Linked DNA regions of Homo sapiens: region 1 is linked to region 2. The links are contacts of gene promoters, found by promoter capture Hi-C in blood cells and fetal thymus (Javierre and others, 2016). All regions are on one chromosome and are shown on one strand. Each heading gives the region's core, a stretch centred on a gene start or on the middle of the fragment in contact. The rest is flanking DNA. Distances are from core to core; before and after follow the strand shown.

Region 1 (3,794 bases), core at 241-2,740, 690 kb before region 2:
AATGTGGTAACTTGATCAGTAAACATGTTTGGTAGTAAAAGGCCTACTTCCATGGGCCCCTTCTACTGTATCTGTGAAAAAGGCTGCTTTTGAGCAGTAAGTAAATGTCACCCCCAACTCGGGCAATGCGTGGTAGGTGGGCCATGGGAACAACTTGGGTGTTAGGGTAGAATGGCCACTGTCTGGACCTGTCACTAACACTGCACTTGAACACAGGTGTGGACAACAAGAGCACAGAGCAGGCCAGTGGGCACCAAATAGTACCTCTTTTACATTTTGCTACAATATCAGCAGCTTATGGCACTGGCTTAAGGCTGCTGCCAAACTCCGCTGTCATTCCCTCGCTGACAGTGATAGAATGGTACATCCGTTCAGTATTCAGAAATGAGACAGGCTTGTTTTGACACCACTGTTTCTGCAAAAGGGAAAGGAACCAGATTGGAGAGTGTAGTCATCAATTGGCAGAATCAGTTAAGAATAACAACAGCACAGTGTGCGTCATTTGGGAGAGGTAAGTGTGGCATGAGGTGCTGGAATTCATTGGAAAATGCTAGCCCAGCTCTTCCTCCCTTAGTTTGGACAACGTCTGGTCTCATTTCCATGGCTTCTGCACACCCAGTTGAAGGGAAGCTCGTCCCTGCCTCCCAATCACTTAACCTCTTATGATGCCTGATAGTAAAATATAGTATGTTAGCAACTATAGGGATTCCTACATGGAGAGATAAGTCTTTGATTCTTATTTAAGCTTTGATTTATTGTCTTCAGTTGTTTTGGGTAGAGGGATGGCTGATTTTTAACAAGAAGATAAACTTAAAGATGGAAATTCTTGTAAGCCATAAATATCACTAACTTGCCTGTTCCAGGGAAGTTCAAATAAAGACACTGGGACTTAGCAGCAGCTGAAATGTTTTCCTTTTTTCCCCATTGGCCCAAAAAAAGATATGCCTTGCCATTGGTGGTTTGGCGCCAGGGCCTGATCTGTGCCTGGATACACAGGCCATTCAGAGTTCCTATTGCATAGAAAGGAGACAGAGGATGACAAATTGGTCTACACCAGTTGACCTCCAAAGTGAAGGGATAATTTTACCCAGCAACCTCTGGAGTTTTCTTTATCTGTTTTATTTAGTGAAAACACTGTTCTTCTCCAGTACTCCCTATTTCTCCTAGCAAGCTCCAAGGATTAATTCTGGGTCACTAGCTAAATTCACCACCTCTGCTCTGCTCCCAAATTGCTTCTTTTTCCTTAGCCTTATGCAAATCCTGGAAGATATCAATTCTGAGGGCTGGGGTGTATCTTGATCACCTTTGGAATCTACCACTGCATGGAGCACAGCACTTACCACCTAGTAGGTAAGCAACAAATGCTTGCTTGTCAATTGATTTATTCAGTAGACTCAGTGCTATGTGTACATTAAACACCTGGGGAGCTTTAAACAATAAACGAGCAAACCAACAAATGCTGCATCAGCCTAGACCAACACAATCCTGATCTCTGGATGTGGGATCCCCGCACTGGTAAGTTTGTAAAGCACCACAGGTGATACTAGTGCATGGGGAAGATTGAGAACTACTGGATTCATTAACCTGTTGCTTTACTTGGCTACAGTTCTGTTTGTTTCCAAGTTTGGAAGAAACATAATTGAATCATTTTGAGGAATTCCAATCCCTGACAAGATGCCAGTGCTATTTTACAGCAAGAGTAGACGAGGAAGGCTATACTACGTGGTCCTGGGCAAGTTATTTAAATTCTCTGTGCCTCAGTTTTCTGAACCGTAAGATGGGAAGAATAATAGTAACTACCTCTGGAGGCTGTTGTAAAAGTTAAATGATCTGATCTATGTAAAGCACTTAGAACAGTACCTGGTATATAAGTGTGTGATAAATAAAATCCAATATGAAGAAGAGGATGATCTATTTGTTGTCATTATTGTTGTTCTCTGCTTCAGTTAATGACTCCAGCTTCCTCCCAGACTAAGCTCCCAGGAGACTTTTGACCCCAGCCTCTCCTTTGTCCCTTCCATTTTATTGCTGGTCAAGTCCTGCTCCTCTGACCCTGCACTATCTGGAATCTGCCCCTTCCTTTTCATGCCCCTGTCCCTAATTGTAATCCTCACTCTCATTATCTCTCTTCTGGGTTATGGCTGCCGCACTGGTCTCCTTGCCAACCGTCTGTTTTGCCTGTCAACCACCCCTAGATGGCTCCCAAATTGCCCTAAAGTCAAGCTCTAAGCTTGCAGCTGCCAAGCTCAAAGCTCAACTTATATCCTTATTGCTGTGAAAATTCAAACCCAAATTGTGTGATTTGGACAGTTTAGTTACTTTCTCTAAGCCTTGGTTTCTTCATCTTCTTTTTTTGTTTCCTTTTTTGAGATGGAGTCTCGCTCTGACACCCAGGCTGGAGTGCAGTGGCGCTATCTCGGCTCACTGCAACCTCCACCTCCCAGGTTCAAGCGATTCTCTTTCCTCAGTCTCCTGAGTAGCTGAGATCACAGGTGCACATCAACATGCCCGGCTAAATTGTGTATTTTTCGTAGAGACAGGGTTTCTCCATGTTGGCCAAGCTGGTTTCAAACTCCTGGCCTCAAGTGATCCGCCTGCCTCAGCCTCCCAAAGTGCTGGGATTACAGGCATGAGCCACAGCGCCCTGCCAGTTTCTTGATCTTTAAATGGGGATCATCTAATAACACTTTCTCTTTAATAGGGTTATGGGAATAGAATAAAGGAATTCTTGTAAATAAAGCATCTAGAAATCTTCATGGCACACCATAGGGGATCAATACAAGTTGTTGTTGTTATTATTTGAAATTTGACTGCCAGCAACTCCTCTCCAGCCATCCTGGACACTGGCCACATGGAAGTCCTTGCTGTTTCCAGACCCCCTGTGCCTTTCTGGATTTGGGTCTCTGCTCACATTGTCTTTACTCTTGGGATGCCTGCCACTCCTCTCCAGGTGTCTGAATCTTAACAGTCTTAAAGGGCCAAACCTCAAAAGCCAATTTCTTCTAGAAGACTTCCCTGGAAGTCAATTACTCCTTTGACTTCCCACAAATTCACTTCTTTTAAGGCAGGGGCTCTCCAACTTTAGCATTCATCAGATTCACCTGGAGGGCTTGTTAAACCAATGACTCCTTAGCGGATCCTGGAGATCCTAATTCAGTAAGTCCAGGGCAGGACCCCAAAATTTGCATTACTAATGAGTTCCCAGGTGATACTGATCTGCTGGTCCATACTTAAGGAGCTCCGTTTTAGGGCTACTCACTGAACACCTTCCAACTTCTATGGCTGCTTGAATACAAATCTCTTCTCTGAGAAGACTGTAAGTTCTTCCCTAGAAGGGCCAAAATCTACTTTCCCTTATGTCTGGTGGAAGGAGGTGGGCCTTGGGCTGGGCCTTGAAGGCTGGGTGGGATTTGAATCCACTAACAGCAGGCAAGAGCCTGCACATGAGGAGCCCAGGAATGGGAACAGGAACAGAGAGCTGCACGGTTGTGCGAGGGTGACTGGTTAGGATATTAAGGTGCAATGGGAAATGGGGCTAGACAGCTGTGTGCCACATATCCAATATGATATGGGGGTTTTGAGAAGGGGGGTGTGGAACCTTGAAAAGCAGGCAGAGGAGTGCACATTTGATCCCCTAACCTGCAAAGCACAAGGGCTGAACTGCAAGGTCTCATCATGATCGTTCCTTCCATAAGCTGCTGTGGAGTTTGGGCTCTCTTTGCATTTTCAGCAAGGCACACTTCCTAATGTGCAGGACATGTTTCTGTTCTACCTCCAAAAGTCTGTCATTCTTT
Region 2 (3,695 bases), core at 667-3,166:
GCTATCGGCTCCCTGATCTATGAGAGAACAGAGGTTTGGGCCAAGGACACTGGGAGTTATACTTCTGGGCTTCTCAGCTCTCAGGGTCCCAGCGTTTTAAAATTTCGTTTCATTTTTTGGTTAGGTTAACAGAAACAATGGGGTTATTTCCGGTAGTGGCAACAGCACGAACTAGTTTTCTTGTGGACTAATGGCCCGAGAGTTCCTGTGATTTGTGGATTATTTCCCTTAGATGCAATCGACCATTTCGTTCCAATAAGAATTAATGCTACCACGGGGCTTACAAAGAACCCCTCAAGTCTTCCAAATCTGCCCATGACATCAACCTCTGCTGCGTAATCGGACCTGCACCCAACCCAGGTTTTTAGTCACTCAAGCGCGCTGTGCTACAGAACCAGGGAAAAGCACTGAAGCTCTGAACATAGAGCTTGGCCATCAGGGCCACACCCCCACACCCACCCGGGTACCATCCGACCTAGGGACTCTTCCTGCTCCGAATCTACCTGGCAGGGCCTAGAAGCCACTATCCAGGTGCCTGCTTTTCAATGGGGAATGTTTTTTACCCCGATCAAAGAATGACCTCAAAGGTCATTGTACTGTAGTAGAGAAATAATTACAAAATACAAACACTCCAAATAAAATAACAATCACTCAAGTTTCTTATTTGTAAGTGATCAGAGTTAGTGATCCAGGATAATTTGCAGGCATCAGCTGGCCACAAATCGTGGACCTCCATTTTGAAATGAGCATGATTCCATCATTAATTACGAAAAACACCTTTCCACAAAGATGACATGTTTTGTTCAGAAACTCTTTTATGGCCCACGTTGTTACATTGGAATTTTAAGGGAATAATAAGTTAGGATTTACCACTGGGTGCTTTGGGAACCATACCCTTGCCTTGCGCAGGCAGTCTCATGCGCAATGCGGCAGACTGTCCAAAGGTTTCATTTCACAATGTTCATGAGGGAATAGGCAATAGGATTTGCGAACTGCATCCGCAAGTGCCATTCAAAATCAGTGGGAGAAAATAGCTTTTTTTCTTCTGCAAAGGATTTTCTTTTATGCATATTGTTTCAGTTCAGCAGTTTTGAAGTTGAGGGAAGAATGTTGCAATGTAATATTTATTAGCAGGTGGGAAAAAAAACACAACCCATCAATACATTTAGAGAGCAAAAAGATCTACTCTTTTCCTACTCTGGCAAATAAGAAACACACGATGTTTCAACACAGAGATGTCTTGTATTTCTCAAAGATCTATTGGGTTTTTACCAAGACCTGCACCATATATTCTGATACCATTACCTCCCAAAACATGGATTCATTTTGTGATATAAAAGAATCCAAATTCACCTGACGGATTATCATATGCGGGAAGAGCCTATCTTGAGTTGCTTAAAAATTTCTCTAAGAACTAGAGAAACATTTAAAAATATTTAAAATTCCATCTCATACAACACAAGGCCCAATAAACCATCAACCCTAGAAATTAACCAGCATCAGTCACTAAAGCCTAGATTCAAACACCAAGCACATCCTAGAAACAGAGAATTCACCCCACCCCCACCCAAGCCCCAACCCTCAAAAAACACCTGTTAGCCTCCCAGGAACCTCTGGCCACGGCCACAGGTAAACCACAAAAACCACAGCTCTATATAAAATGCCTTTAGTGACCCCCAGCAAAGTGGAGATGTTCAGTAGTAACCCGTCTATACACTTTCCTAGGGTAGGATTGAGGGGCTCTCCATCTAGGCAGTGGGATCCTGTCTGTGGCTACCCGTATCTCAGAATTTTTGAAATAATACTGCCCCCTTAGACTTCTGAACCCAGCCGGACTCCACCCCAGGCCCCAGGGGACGCCCTAGGAACGAAGTGATTGGGGGAAGGGGCTTAGACAGCGACCCCCCACTTCCCCGGGAAATGTAGGGGAGCAGCCGGACTGAGCTGCCCAAGGGGGTCGGCGCCCCAGGCTTCTTGGTGGCATGCTGGGGAGCGGGGAGGGGGCGATTCTTACCCGAAGGCTGCCGAGCTACAGGCGGCGGTCGGTCCGGGCGTCTGCTGTAATCCACTAGGCGCTGCCCGGCTGCGCTCACTCTCGGACGCAGAGACCCGCTCATGTTGGTGAAGAAGCCGCGCCAGAACCGCGCGGCTGCAGTCACCTCGAGCAGGCCGGCTGCTCCTGGCAGGCGGTGTCGGCGCCGGCGGGGGACTCGGCGCCCAGGGCCCCTTCCAGGCCCTCCCTCGCCGGGCTCCCCACCAGCTCCGGAGGTGGCGGCGATGCGGACCGAGTGAGCGGCGGTGGGGCCAGGCCGGGCGCCGGGCGGGAGCCGAGGCCGCGGCGGACTCCGCAATCCCGCAGCCGGTGACTGGAGCCCACCTCTGCAGAGACAAAGGTTAGAAAAAGAGGGGGTGAGGCTCTGGGAAAGCAGAATGCGGGGGGAAATTCGCCGGGGAAATCAGGAAAAAGGCCGTGAAGGCGAGCGGCGCCTGCACATGACCAGCCGCAGCCAATGACGACCGCAAATAGGTCATAAAAAGGTCTATTACCAAGTTGTAAATTTTCTTCAAACAAAAAGGAATTTACTGCAATTCCTTGCGGATTTTGCACATACAGCTCGCAAGCGCCATGTTTTTTCCTCTTCTGCTTTCTCTCTCCCCCGCCTCCTCTCTTCCTTCTCCTCCTCCTCTCTCTCTCCATTCTCTCTCTCCTTCCTCCCTTCTCTTTCTCTGTCCCTCTTCACCTTTCCCTTTTTCTTCCCTTCGTGGTTCTTCCCTCCCTCCCCGCCTCCTCTGTTTCTTTTTCTAGGATTTATTTGTGTGTGTGCGTGTGTGTGTGTGTGTGTGTGTGTGTGTGTGTGTGTGTTCTTTTCTTTGGTTTGGCTCAAAACCTCTGCGCAGTTGGCCATCGTGAAGGAGGGAAATGAACTCAATGTACTGCTCACGCTCTGGGGAAGCGATCCCCACAGCTACCTCCTCCCATCTCTCACCCTGTGCTAGTCACTTGGCTTCTCCTCCTCTCCCCTCAGGAAAAGGCCTGTCCCCAGAGGCAGCCAACCACTTTCGGTTTCCCCTCCTCCCTCTCATCTTGCAAGCCAGCCCCAGTTACCTTGGGAAGAAAACGAGGGATCTGCAGGCCAAGAAAATGTGCCCCCAACACACCACTCCAACATAAATTGGGGTCCCTCCCATTCCCGGGAGGTTCTGCAGTAGGATAATCACCAACCAGCTTAAAGGCTTCAAATGGTTTTAGGTACTTGTCAACCTCTCCGAAATACCCGTTTGAAACTCTACCACCTGGTCTTTCTCCACAGAAACATCTTTCTGGACAGACAGGGTTATGGTTTCTGGATCCCTTCTGAAACTCCTTGCTCTACGTCCTCCTCTAAGAGCAATTCTCATTTTTATGGAGTTTAATTCTAGTTCTCCCCTCTCCCCTTGCCCCCAAATATTTCCCAATTGAAAAATTTGTTCAACGCAATACTGAAAAGACATTTGTTCAGGAAAAGAGTGACTTCCTCAGATCAGCCTAGAAAAAAGAATAATTCCTTTTCCTCAAAGGCCGGTGTCACATTCCCTTTATATTTTTCACAGGAACTGCTCTGGTGAACTCCCCCTGAAAGTAAATGTCCTTGGCTGGCCTCCAGCATTCCCCTCATGGGCATAGCCATGCAGCCTTCAGAACCTTCCTGAAAGAG

The links. Contacts are between HindIII fragments. The CHiCAGO score rates a contact against its expected background, and 5 or more counts as called.
Region 1: a fragment that was not itself captured here is called in contact with the fragment with the promoter of HOXD-AS2 in region 2 in 1 of 17 cell types (naive CD8 T cells); the score reaches 7.8 in naive CD8 T cells.

What each region holds. Positions count from the first base shown.
Region 1 is chr2:176,828,952-176,832,745 of GRCh38, reverse strand. LOC105373757 (a long non-coding RNA gene) reads left to right here. Exons shown (of 4, transcript NR_187998.1): 3 at 1,248-1,350; 4 at 1,607-1,904. Among named protein-coding and RNA genes, the nearest start is that of LINC01117, 190 kb to the right of the region's middle. The HindIII fragment of the contact is 1,485 bases long and covers 748-2,232 here.
Region 2 is chr2:176,135,319-176,139,013 of GRCh38, reverse strand. HOXD-AS2 (HOXD cluster antisense RNA 2) reads left to right here and starts at 1,916. Exons shown (of 3, transcript NR_038435.1): 1 at 1,916-2,393; 2 at 3,592-3,695. LOC401021 (a long non-coding RNA gene) reads right to left here and starts at 2,402. Exons shown (of 2, transcript NR_148241.1): 1 at 2,015-2,402; 2 at 1-17. The HindIII fragment of the contact is 4,739 bases long and covers 1-3,695 here.